Linked DNA regions of Homo sapiens: regions 1 and 3 are each linked to region 2. The links are contacts of gene promoters, found by promoter capture Hi-C in blood cells and fetal thymus (Javierre and others, 2016). All regions are on one chromosome and are shown on one strand. The core of a region is centred on a gene start or on the middle of the fragment in contact, and the rest is flanking DNA. Distances in the headings are between cores, read along the strand shown. Region 1 has its middle 5.4 kb from the start of MYT1. Region 2 holds the start of KCNQ2 (potassium voltage-gated channel subfamily Q member 2). Region 3 overlaps MYT1 (myelin transcription factor 1).

Region 1 (3,774 bases), core at 237-2,736, 690 kb before region 2:
CCAAGGGCTCCTGACACCCACCAGCTATATGGCCTGCCAGGCAGATCCAGGCAGGTAAATCAACAGAAAGAAGGCCCAGCTGGCCTCTGCACACACCCTGCCCACCGCCCTCCCACCTCCAACCTTCTGCAGGGCAGCGTTCACAGGGCTCTGTGCCGTCAGCACTTCTGCAAGCCACGGGATCCGCTAGAAGGGGAGGTGGCTGTTTCCCCAGGGGCCCTGGCCATTGTTCAGGAGGGAGCATGTCTGTCACCTCCTTGGCTGCCCAGAAAAGAGCACTGAGCTCTGAGGGGGGGACACACACAGCTAATTAGTCCCTTTGGCATCTTCGCAGAAACTTGTGAACAGACCAGGGAGGGACGCGAGGGGCTGGGGGTGGTACGCACCCAGGAAGGTCCCGCAGAGCGTCATCCTGGCCAGGGGGTGCACCTTCTCTCTGGGAACACACGTCACTTCATGCTGGAAAAAGTTGCTGCACAAACTTGTGTCCCAGGGCCCTGGGGAGACCCCACTGCATCCAGCCAATCAAGACCAGGGAGCAGATAATCACAAATTGATGCCCCGGCTGCCTGCCAATGAGGCTCTCTTCTCCACACAATGGGCTCAGGCCCCAGACAATCTCTCCCCCACCCCGCAGGGCCAGGGAAGGGGAGTGAGGGGAGGCAGAGACACAGCCCTTCCCACACAGTAATGGACTCACAGTGAGTGAGGGGAGGGGGCCCTTCCTGAAGATGCATCCCTTCCCCCGCTTCCTCTCTCGGAACTGCCACACTAGGTCCAGCCTGAAACCTGGTGGGGAACCAGCCAGGATGCATGAGTGGGGTCAGGTCTCGCTCCCTACAACCCAATCACTGCCTGTTGAGACAAGGCCCCTGAGGGCCCTCAGCTGGTGTGGTTGACTCCCCACCACCAGATCCCAGGCACAAGGTATGGTGGGAGGTGCCAGGGGGAGGCAAACTGTAGAAGTCAAGAATCCCTCGACAACCTCAGGCCCTGCAGGCAGAGGGTGGGGTGTGCAGGAAGGAAAGGGCAGGGAGAGAGGGCTGCCCAGAAGGACCTGGACCTTCCAGCAGCTACAGCCGCGCCAGGGCCAGGGAGGGGCAGGGTGTGTGGATGGGAGTGAAGGTGGGCACTGCAGAGGCCTCTTCCAGAATGATTCCTAGTCCCTCGAACTGGGCCCACGACCTTTCACTGCCCACAGGGGCCCTTTGAAACGATGAACTTGGCCTCACCATGGAGCCCGGCTGTCCTCTGGGCCAGCTTCCCCTGATGCCGAGGGAAGCTCCCATCACCCCAGGCAGCTCAGGGTCACCTCCTGGTCCTCAGGTTCTGCAGGTGTCTGTCCCTGCAGGGGACAGGTGGAGGCCCAGGTGATGCTGGCTTACCTCTACCAACACGTGGCCAAGTCCAGGCTAGTCTCTCCCATCCAGGGCAGCACTGAGGGGGAGGCCCGGAGTATGGAGGGTTCAAACCTTTGGAGGAGGCAGATCTGGACTGACCCCTGACCGGCCCCTCCCAGCTGGGTGACCAAGAGCAAAATGTTTAACATTTACATCTTCAGTGAGGTCTATGGTGAGTGCTACTGGGCGGCAATAGACGGTAAAGGGTGTCCCAAGAGAAGTGACGAATTGCATTCGAGTTGGGACACCCCCTCAGGAATGAATCGGGTTGCTGAGGGTCTGGATGTGGTAGGGACAGAGAGGCCACAGGAGACTCCAGGGCTGGCCAGAGCCATGAGGTGGGCGGCAGCACCCCCTGAGAGGGAGACGCTGAAGGAGGGCAGATTTGTGGGAGTTGCTGGCTCTGCTGGGATGTCTGAGCGCCTGTTAGTCACCAGGTGACACCGTCAACAAGGGTGACAGTATGGAGGCTGAGGCTGGGGGCAGAGATTAGGCTGGAAATAAATGGTGAGTCATCTTGTTTAGAGGAGAGAACATCGAGGGGTGAAGGTGCTCAGAGGCTGGTGAGCGTGCAGGAGAAGCAGGAGGAAGCAGGTGGGTGCAGGGGGGACAAGTGGGAGGCCAAGAGGGGCAGGTAGGGGTGGGGAGACAGGTGGGGCAGGTGGAGGTAGGAGGGGGGAGGGGGGACATGTGGGGGGCAAAAGAGGGGCAGGTTGGAGGCAGGGGAGACAGGTAGGACAGGTGGGGCCAGGAGGGGCATATGGCAGTGGTGAGACAGGTGGAGCAAGTAGGGGGAGGGGAGGGGATGGGGTCAGGAAGGTAGAAGAGGGGCGGGGTCAGGTGGGGCAGGTGGTGGCAGGGACCAGTGGGGCAGGTGGGGGACACAGACAGGTTGGGCAGGTGAGGACAGGGGCAGGTGGGGCAGGTGGGGACAGGGACAGGTGGGGCAGGTCGGGGAAAGGGGTAGGTGGGGCAGGTGGTGGCAGGGGCCAGTGGAGCAGGTGGGGGACACAGACAAGTGGGGCAGGTGGGGGACACAGACAAGTGGGGCAGGTGGAGCAGGTGGGGGACACAGGTGGGGCATGTGGGGCAGGTAGGGGAAAGGGGTAGGTGGGGCAGGTGGTGGCAGGGACCAGAGGGGCAGGTGGGGGACACAGACAGGTTGGGCAGGTGGGGACAGGGGCAGGTGGGACAGGTGAGGACAGGGGCAGGTGGGGCAGGTGGGGATGGGGCAGGTGGAGACAAAGACAGGTGGGGACAGGGACAGGTGGGATGGAGCAGGTGGGGCAGGTGAGGACAGGGGCAGGTGGGGGACAGGAACAGGTGAGGACATGAACAGGTGGGCAGGACAAGGATAGGCAGGGACAGGGGCAGGTGGGGGCAGGGGTAGGTGGGGCAGGTGAGGACAGGGACAAGTGGGGCAGGTAGGGACAGGAACAGGTGGGGACAGGGGCAGGTGGGGCAGGTTGGGCACAGGGATGGGTGGGGCAGGTGGGGCAGGTGGGGACAGGATGGGGACAGGGGCAGATGGGAAAGGTGGGGACAGGAGCAGGTGGGGACGGGGACAGGTGGGGCAGGTTGGGGACAGGGACAGGTGGGGACAGGGGCAGGTGGGGGCAGCTGGCCACAGCAGATGCTGTGTGGAAGAAGGGTTTTCCCCTGTGAGTTCTGCCTCTTCTCCTCGTCCACAAGGACGTCTGTGCTTAGGGGAAGTGACCTGGGGCAGATTGCCAAACCTTTCTGTGACTCAGTTTCCCGATCTATCAAATGAGGGCAACAGAAATGTCAGAAAGTGCCAGCAGGGGTTGGTGCTGATCCATCTGCCCGCCCATCACGGAGACACCCCTCGCAGTAGCCAGGGGGCTCCTCCCAACACCACAGCTATCAAATGCAGTTTGCAGTTCCAACTTGCTCCACCTGACTGGGACTCCCTACCCTTGGGGAAAATATGTTCTTCGGATGGAGTTAATTAAGACTGATTATTTAAAGGAACAATGGTGAGAAATCCAGGAAAAGCTTGTGCTGCTGCCTTTCGGTAGAACCAACCAGCCTGGTAATCCATCACGTGATGAAACGACTTGGACACGTTCAGAATCAGGAAAGACAGGGCCAGCGCTCCTCTCTGAAGTTCTGCTCGAGAAAGGCCCTCCAGCTCCCCCACCCCAACTCAACACGTGCTCAGGGGGCCAGCTCCAGGGGAACCTGGCCAGGCTGAGTCAGAACTCACCAGGTTGACCGTGGATGCATTAGGGTTTGAGGGGCATTTGCCATAGGCCATGCGGCCCAGCCTCACCCCACAGCCGGGAGAGTCCAGCCCCGTGTGTGGGATGCAGCTCTGGCTATTGAAGGTGGCAATACCTCAGCCTCCCTCAGG
Region 2 (4,271 bases), core at 547-3,046:
CTCGGGTCTTCTGGTGAGTGGGAAAGACCAGCGGCACCAGCCAGCGTGTGCAGGGAGATGCCACGGTGCTCTCTTCCTTCTGCATACTGAAGTCCTCTCCCTCCCCTGAAAGCACCAGGCTGGTGCCTCCTCCCTTAACAATCGAGAGAAACCGCAGCCGCTTGGGGCAAGCCCACTTCATGCTGGTAATCACAGCCAATGCGTGGGCACAGAGGCAGGGAGGCGGGGATCCAGAAAGTACCCCTGGATGTGCACAAGCTTGTGTAAGTTGCCGTCTATCCCCAACGTCCTGGATAACGTACAGGTTAGCATTCTGCCTGCACCGACCCTTCTGTATTCAGCCTAGTTAAAAACAAAACAACAACAACAAAAACAGGCCCCGTGGCCACTAGCTCTGGAAACCAAAGGGCAAACACAACTCAAGAGCTCACTCTGCACCAGGGTTAGGGCTGTTTTATGAGCAGGTCACCTGCGAGGACGGCGCCAGCGATTCAGCAGAGGGCCTTTCTCTGGGTAGAACCCATGGTGCCAGGCGAACGTGCAAACAGGCTGGATGTAGTCAGAGACGCACTCGAAGATGACACCCCTCCTGGATGTGCAGAGGAAGGCCCAGTGGCGGGGCACCTCACAGGGCGGGCAGCACTGAGCCGCAGGGGTCCCTTGGTCTCCCAGCAGCAGCTCCAGAGGGACCCCTCCCAGGACACATGGCTGCCGGCAGGGGGGAGGCCACCTCCGCGCACTTGCCCCCAAGGAAACACCGTCCCATCTGTGTCCAGGAGGCACAGATCTGCCTCCTTTGTCCCGAGGTGTGGCACTGGGCTTCCTGCTGGCCTGTCTGCTGCCCTGGGGCCACCCTCCAGTCCCTGCCCCTGCCACAGGCCCCTTCTGGGGTCTGCATAACTAAGTCCAGGCCCCTTGGGGGGCTTCAAGGCCCTCTAGGAGTGACTCTCTCCCATCCCCCACCCCATGGCCCTTGCTCCTCTTCTTGCCTCCCGGCCTCTGTGGCCACCCCCTTTCCCCTGGGCTGCTTTCCTTGCAGGGTGCCTCCAGCCTCCACAGACCCTCCCTGCACACACCCTGGGGTCTAGGGGGTCCTACTGCCTGGGCAACCCTGACACCGAGAGCATGAGGTCACCATGGGCTGAGCCCTAACAGAGTCTTGGGGAGAGCCCCTACCCCCATCCCTTCCCGGAGGCGTCCACTCCCAGGGCCCAGCTGAGAAGACTCCAGTCCTGCTCAGGCGGCTGGGCACCGCTCTGGGACCCCAGGAGCGCTGGGGCCACCAGGCAGGTCCACTTGGTTAGTACTACCGGACTCAAAGGTGACCGCAGGGTCAGTGTGCACATGGCCGGGGGATTGGGCAGGCTCAGCCCAGAGCTCTGGTCCCGCGGGCCTTGGTCCCTTCTGCCTCCCCCTCCTCTCCCCCTGCCCTCCCCTCCCCCTCCCCCACTCCCCCTCCTCTCCCCCCTCCCCTCCCCCTCCACTCCTGTCTCCCCCCTCCACTCCTGTCTCCCCTCTCCCCGTCCCCGCCACTCTCCTCCCCTCCCATTCCCCTCTCCTCCCCTCCCCCTCCCCTCCTGTCTCCCCTCTCCCCGTCCCCTCTCCCTCCCCTCCCCTCCCTTTCCCTCTTCTCTCCTCCCCTCTCCTCTCCTTCCCCCCTCCCCTCCCCTCCCCGTCCCTCCCTCTCCCCTCCCTTCCCCTCCCTCTCTTCTCCTCCCCTCTCCTTCGACTGGCGTCGCGGGGGTTAACGCGGGGCGGGGCGAGGCGGCGGGCGGAGCCGGCGCGGCCGCGGGCCAGGCGCCGAGGTGCGCGCGGAGCGAGGTGGCCGCAGCGTCTCCGCGCGCGGCCCAAGCCCGGCAGGAGTGCGGAACCGCCGCCTCGGCCATGCGGCTCCCGGCCGGGGGGCCTGGGCTGGGGCCCGCGCCGCCCCCCGCGCTCCGCCCCCGCTGAGCCTGAGCCCGACCCGGGGCGCCTCCCGCCAGGCACCATGGTGCAGAAGTCGCGCAACGGCGGCGTATACCCCGGCCCGAGCGGGGAGAAGAAGCTGAAGGTGGGCTTCGTGGGGCTGGACCCCGGCGCGCCCGACTCCACCCGGGACGGGGCGCTGCTGATCGCCGGCTCCGAGGCCCCCAAGCGCGGCAGCATCCTCAGCAAACCTCGCGCGGGCGGCGCGGGCGCCGGGAAGCCCCCCAAGCGCAACGCCTTCTACCGCAAGCTGCAGAATTTCCTCTACAACGTGCTGGAGCGGCCGCGCGGCTGGGCGTTCATCTACCACGCCTACGTGTGAGTGGCCGGCGGGGCCCCCGTGGCGACCCCCATGGCGACCCCCATCGGCGACCCCATCGGCGACCCCGGCCAGGCTGGCTGCGGCGGGTTTGGCTCCCTGCCCCTGGGTCTGGGTCCGGGGCCGGCGCTCCCCGGCGGGAGTGCTGGGCCGAGACCGGAGAGCGATTGTACAGCGCGCGGGCAGGAAGGATTCCGGGGTCGGGGCCGCTCAGGTCGGGGTGGGGGCTCCAGGCCCGCAGGACAGAGACGTGCGGCCGCCCCAGCCCCCTCCTCAGCCTGGGAGGCCCCTCCCCGCGGCCTCTGCGCCGAACAAAGGGCCGGCCGGGGAGGGACGGCGGCAGCGCTGGGTCTGGACTCTCCGGGACTCTCGGGGACCCGCGGGGCTGGGGCCGCCCGACCAAGCGAGGGCGGGGGGGAGGGGTCTGGCCTGTCCTCCGCCATCCTCCCGAGCCGCTCTCCCTCAGACTAGGGTGAGCTTCTGGGTTCCTGAGATGGGGGAGGGGCCCTCCCATGACCCCCCCACCCCAGCCCGGGCTGAGCGCAGCTGTCTGTCCTGCCCCCTCGGCGCCGACGCCCCTCCCTGGCCCCGCGAACCCCCTCAGCTCCTGCGCTCAGCTCCTGCGCTGTCCCATCTCTGCAGCCGCCGGCCGCCCCCGTGCACATCCCGGGCTCAGGACCCCTCCTTGGCAGAGCGAGGCCCGGGGGAGGGGCTGCGGCAGACCTGGGACCCCCAGCCCTGGGCCTGGAAGGGGCTGTCCCCTCTTCCCGGGCGAGGCTCAGGGAACGGCTGCCTCCTGGGGCAGGGCTGGCGGGGGGCGGCCGAAGCCTGCGTCCGTGTGCACCTGGGTGTTCGCATGTGGAATTGCACGGCCCGCTGCGTGTGCGGCCTGTGCGGCCGGTGTGCACAGCCTCCCCGCGCCAGGGCGCTTGCTCTCCCATCCCAGCTGAACAAGGGACCCGCTGAGCTCCGGGACCGGCCATTTTGTGTGAGAGGCATTTTGGGATGGGAGTGAGGGGCAGACTGGTCACAAGCTGGTCGGGCGCCCACCTGGGCCGAGAGGGGTGTGTGCCCCACGAGTGTGCCCCAGCCTGCGTGTGGCCTTGAGTGTGCCCTTAGCAGACCCTCCGTGGACTGTGATATGAGAGGGTTCTGGGGTAGGGAGAAGATCCCAGAGGGAAATGCCAGGCCGCTTACAGGGAGGGTGTCTCCGTGGAGGGCCCCTGGGCACCCAGCCTGGGACTCCCCAAGCAGAAGCTTCTCCGACCTCCTGGGTCCTGGAAGCCCTGTGGCCCCCAGGAGGTGAGTCTAGCTTTTCCAGTCCAGGGTTCATTCCCGAATCCCCAGATGAGCTTCTGTGTTCTCAGGAATGGCCTCCCCTGATGGCCCCCACCTGGCTGGGGGCCAAAGGGGCTCTTGGTGGGCCGGTACTGGTCAGCCAGGTCCCTGCCCAAGGTGACTCCCCGGAGGAGGGTAGGATAGAACCCACCCCCACAACCCTCCTGCCCTGACAGCCTGGCCAGCGCCCCGCTCTGCGTCTGACCCAGGGTTGGTTCTGCTTTGAGTCCATGATCCAAGGGCCCAGCGTGGCTGTTCCTGAGGTTTCCCGTTGGGTCAGCAGCTCTCCGCATGGCCGCCCCCTGCCTGGGCCTGCGTGGGTCAGCCCCTCTGTCTCTCCTTCCTGTCTCTGCCTCCTGAGAGCAGCAGTCCAGAACTGGGGCAAAGCATGGGGACACTTGCACATGTGGGGTCTGAGCCGTCTCTTCCTGACCACCCCCAGTCCGGACGGGCCCCCTCTAAGATAGAGCAGCAGCATGCGGGGGCTTCAGGCGAGACCCTCAACGTCTGAACAGCCCCGCCTTCCAGCCTGCACTAGGCCTCTCCTCAGCTCCTTTGCTGTGGGCACGGAGCTCCCTGAACCTCCCTGAGCTCCCAGGCTCTCCTCAGCTCCTTTGCTGTGGGCAGGGGTGGCTTGGACTCAGGGAGG
Region 3 (4,265 bases), core at 220-2,719, 740 kb before region 2:
AATAATAAGCTTAACATTGGTACCACCGTTGATGGCTTCCTTGACCAAGGCTTCAGTCAGAATCTGTACACTTATTGTCCACAATGCCAACGAAGCTTTGCAAAGCCCGTCCTCACACCCCAAAGTTCGATAGCCAGAAATGTGGGCTGGATAGAATCAAAAGGGCCTAACGGGAGGCCTCCTCCACCCTAGCCACAATCTCTCTAGCGTTCAGTGAGTATTCACCATGGGCTGAGGGCGGCAGAGTGTCACTTGAGCCTCATGAGCGACTTAGTTTGTTGTCCTACTTTTATAAGTGAACAAACTGAGGTCATAGTCCCAGGGAGTGCAGTCTCCAAAGTTGGAGCCTGTTTGACACCCCTGCCTGGCCTCACACGGGGGCCAAATCTGCGGTTTGACATTTTATCGGTGATTTAGATCAAAGAGGGAAAGGATTGAATTAGCAACTGACAGGAAGCTGGAGGGAACAGCAAATAAGATAGAGGAAAAAAGCAGCTTCAAACCATTGTGAGAGCCAGCTGGTGGAAAGCAGCCTGCTGGGACCTGCAGGGCTGAAGGTGCCTGTGTGTGGGATGGCAAGCATGCCCACAGAGCAGGAAGGCAAGTCTCTGTGCTCTGCCCAGAGATCCCACGTGTGGGAATTGCACCTTCAGAGGAACACTCTGGAGCAGACCAGGGAAGGGCCTGGGCATGACACAGCCAAGGTGAGCAGCGAAGATCATCTGGCTGGAACTTTGCCAATTATGTGCCAGGAAGGGCCGGGGTCAGGTGGGCCCCGAAAGGAGGCGGACAGTGGAAGGGGCTATGCAGTCATTCACGCTCACCCCAGCCGGGGTCTCCTACACTCTTGTCTGGTGAGACAGATATGGAACAGGGGTCTGAGAGCTGGGGAGGAGGAGCTGTGTGTGAGTTCTAGTTCCTCACGGGAGTGGGGAGCAGGGTGTCTGCAGGTGAAGACAGGAGCAGTGGAAGTGTCCTCTTCGACAGTGGGTACCGTGGTCCAAGGACTCAGCTCCATAGAGGAGAGACTTTGAAGCCAGGCAGGATGGGCAGGGTGGCCTTGGGCAACTCTCTGAGCCTCTGGCCTTATTTGTGGCACTTACTTCTTAGAGCCACATGGAAGGAGGGGACACTAATGGGACACATTCTGAAAGATCCTTATTGATTAGAGCCAAATTTACACATGCACACACACATGGACTTGCACGCACATGTAAACATACTCGCACATATGCGAACACAAACAGGCGTGTGAACATGCACACACACGCTCCCACGTGTTCACATACACATGGACTTGCACGCACATGTAAACATACCCGCACATATGCAAACACAAACAGGCGTGTGAACATGCACACACACGCTCCCACATGTTCACACACACCTACTGTGATCTCAGAACCTCAGGGGCCACAAAGCACTCTGGGGAGCAAAGCCTGCACCCACCCTCTTCCTTGACTTGGGGTCTATCCCTGGGGTCGGGGAGGGACAGGCAGGACGGCCAAGGATTAGTGGCTCATGGTGCTTCCTGGACGTCCGTGGTCCTTGGCTGGTGCAGTCTGCTCTTTCCAGACAGGACCAGCATCTCCACAAATGAATCCCCAAGGGGCCTCAAGTGGTCACATCAGACGACTCCAAGGAGGCAGAGCCCCATGTCGGAGGCAGAGGCAACTGTGCAGGAGTTTGCGCTTTGGCTGAGGCACTGGCGAATGTGGTAGACATGAGACTCTGTCCTGTGTGGCTCCAAAACTGCCCCGCAGTTCTGCTCCTGGGGGGCCCGGGGCATGTGCACACTCACATGCACGTACACTCACATGCACGTACACTCACACACATGCACTCACACACATGCACATACAGCCTGCGGGAGACTGAGAAGCCCTCTGCAGGCATTTGGGAGGCAGCCTCTTCAGTTCTGTGGCTCATCTCACTCACCTGAGGATCCGATCGGAATTGGAGCTACTCTTGGAAGGATCTCCTGTCTGCGGCTGCTGCTTCTCATGGGATTTGGCTAATTTTTCGGCGGCAGCAATGGGACACCCAGACAAACTAGAGGAAGGAAGAGGAGGGGTTTCTGAGCCTTCCCCTCCATGCCTGTCCTGTCCTGGGTGTCTGTGTGTGTGGGTGTCTCACGGCAAGGTCATTCAGATGTGAGAACTCCAGGTGAACTCCAGAGAAGCCCAGAGCCGGGAATAACCCTGTCATTCTGCAGGACAGGGGTTTTCTCTCTGGCTCTGTTCTTGAGCCCTCACAGTACAAGCTGCCCAGTCAGTTTCTGTTTTGGAACATTCTATGCCAAGGACACACAAAGATGAAATATATCCTAAAGGCCTTGAAAGCTCTGGGCAAAGATGCCTCCTCTGCATGGGTCTGGGAGACAGGCTTGCCCTCACCCCCTTCCTCTCCCTTCCCAGCTTGCAGGGCTGGATTCTGCAGCCCTCTCTGGCGCTTGTTCTGTTAGCTGCTCTGGGGCAGCCCAGGGCCCCACTTGGACCACAGCCTGGGCACTGACCCTGGATGACACAGGCCCAGGAAAGTACTCAGTCTAAGACACGGAGGCAGCAGCTTCATCTGTCAGAATAAAGTTAACTGTGAGCTCCAGCGCCAGTCCCTCAGCCAGCCCAGGGAGGTGACGTAATGGGGAACTGGCCTCTTTTCAAATGAAGTGACCTCAAAAGCTCTGGCAGTCCTTTCAGCTGAGCATAAGCCTGCTGGGGGAAAGCATATCCCACCGAGGCCACGGCCACCCATGGCACTTAGGGTAAGGCTGGAGGAGTAGTCCCCCCTCACCATAGAAGACCAGTCAACAACTACACCTCGAGGGTGGTCGGGAAGCTTCACTTCCACCTGGGCCTCAGAACTCCCACAAAGCAGCCCAGAGCACAGTCCTGGCCTGCCGAGGTTACTGTTCATGTCTGCCCTTCCCACTCAGGAGCAAGAGCCAGTGTGCAGAGGTTTTCTGAATGTGGGTAGGACACAAAGTATTCACCTGGCTCTCACATGGTTGTTGTACCTCTCTTCACAGAGGGTGCATTGCTCCCTCCTCTGCAGGCCGCCCCCTGCTCTCTCGGGAGCTCGTAGGGTTAAGGCAGCAACACCACTGGGTGACTGCACCTCCAGTTGCCACTCTGCCCTCACAAAGGCCCCTCACCGCCCAGGTGTGCCCTGACCTTGTACCCACTCCTCAGGGCGGCAGGCTGGGAGAAGGGTAGCACACAGGGAGCCCCAGGCAGGCCAGAGCCCCGTCCCAGGTCACGGGCTCACGGCCCAGGCAGGGACACACAGGCCCAACCCAGGTGCCCTACCCCACGTGGAGCCCCCCACCACGGCCCCCACCCTGGCCCCCACCACGGCCCCCACCCTGGCCCCCACCACGGCCCCCACCCTGGCCCCCACCACGGCCCCCACCCTGGCCCCCACTACGGCCCAGCTCAGTCCAAGTACCTTCTGTGCGTGTTGCGGTTGCTGTTCACGTGACCCTGGCCTGTGCAGCCAGGAGTGGGGCACTTCAGCACGTTCTCATGCATGGCTAAGACTGTAAGAGAACAGGGGGTGGAGGGAGCCGAGGCTGTCAGAGAATCTGGGGAGCGCCAGCTGTGTGGGGAGCACAGGCTGAGGAGGGTGCAGGAGCCTTGTCCAAAGGCTGCTGCTTGGTAGGCAGGTGGGGGACACAGCAACGCAGGGCAGCTCCAGCCCCCAAGAGCCTGCAGACACAACTCCCCACCCTCAGCCTGGTCAGGGCATGCCCCCCACCGCCACCACCACTGTGGTCCCTCCCTCCTGCGGCAGAAACCAGACTCAGCTTTAAAACCTCTCATTCTGTGGTTTGCTCCTTTAAATTTAATTTTCACAATTACTGCTTCTAGCCTAAACATAAGAACAAGTATTTGCTTCCTAAGCTTTCAGGGCACAGAGGTTGCTGCAAGAAGACCTCTCCCTTCCCAGCTTGGATGGCACTAGCCTGTCCCCCTCCCATCGATCTGTTACTGTGGGCTCTGACCCGGACTGGCGTCTCTAGGTAGACAAATGGGCTGGTTGCAGGGCCCCAGCCTCAAAGGGCTCAAGTTTGGGCTGAGGGAGTTTGTGGGGGAAAGCGGGGAGATGTAAGGATGAGCATCTGGACAAACCAAAGGGGAAGGTTATGGCCCTGGGCAGGCCACGCCTCCCCATAGACACCACCCAAACACCACAGAGGCAGCGTGAGCTTCACAGTTAGGGCTAACGCTGCACAGAGCTACTCACTCTCTGGGGGGATCCTATCC

What was found. The method cuts DNA at HindIII sites, captures the fragments that hold promoters and counts their contacts. A CHiCAGO score of 5 or more calls a contact.
Region 1: a fragment that was not itself captured here is called in contact with the fragment with the promoter of KCNQ2 in region 2 in 1 of 17 cell types (M0 macrophages); the score reaches 5.1 in M0 macrophages.
Region 3: a contact is called between a fragment that was not itself captured here and the fragment with the promoter of KCNQ2 in region 2, in 1 of 17 cell types (endothelial precursors). The highest score is 5.3, in endothelial precursors.

What each region holds. Positions count from the first base shown.
Region 1 is chr20:64,157,167-64,160,940 of GRCh38, reverse strand. No RefSeq gene overlaps it. Among named protein-coding and RNA genes, the nearest start is that of MYT1, 5.4 kb to the left of the region's middle. RefSeq lists an enhancer at 1,522-2,242. The HindIII fragment of the contact is 3,865 bases long and covers 1-3,418 here.
Region 2 is chr20:63,470,180-63,474,450 of GRCh38, reverse strand. KCNQ2 (potassium voltage-gated channel subfamily Q member 2) reads left to right here and starts at 1,796. Exons shown (of 17, transcript NM_172107.4): 1 at 1,796-2,283. The coding sequence starts at 1,988. RefSeq lists an enhancer at 3,967-4,271. The HindIII fragment of the contact is 3,283 bases long and covers 261-3,543 here.
Region 3 is chr20:64,211,321-64,215,585 of GRCh38, reverse strand. MYT1 (myelin transcription factor 1) reads right to left here. Exons shown (of 23, transcript NM_004535.3): 8 at 4,246-4,265; 9 at 3,448-3,538; 10 at 1,939-2,052. Among named protein-coding and RNA genes, the nearest start is that of PCMTD2, 42 kb to the left of the region's middle. RefSeq lists an enhancer at 3,747-4,246. The HindIII fragment of the contact is 2,743 bases long and covers 98-2,840 here.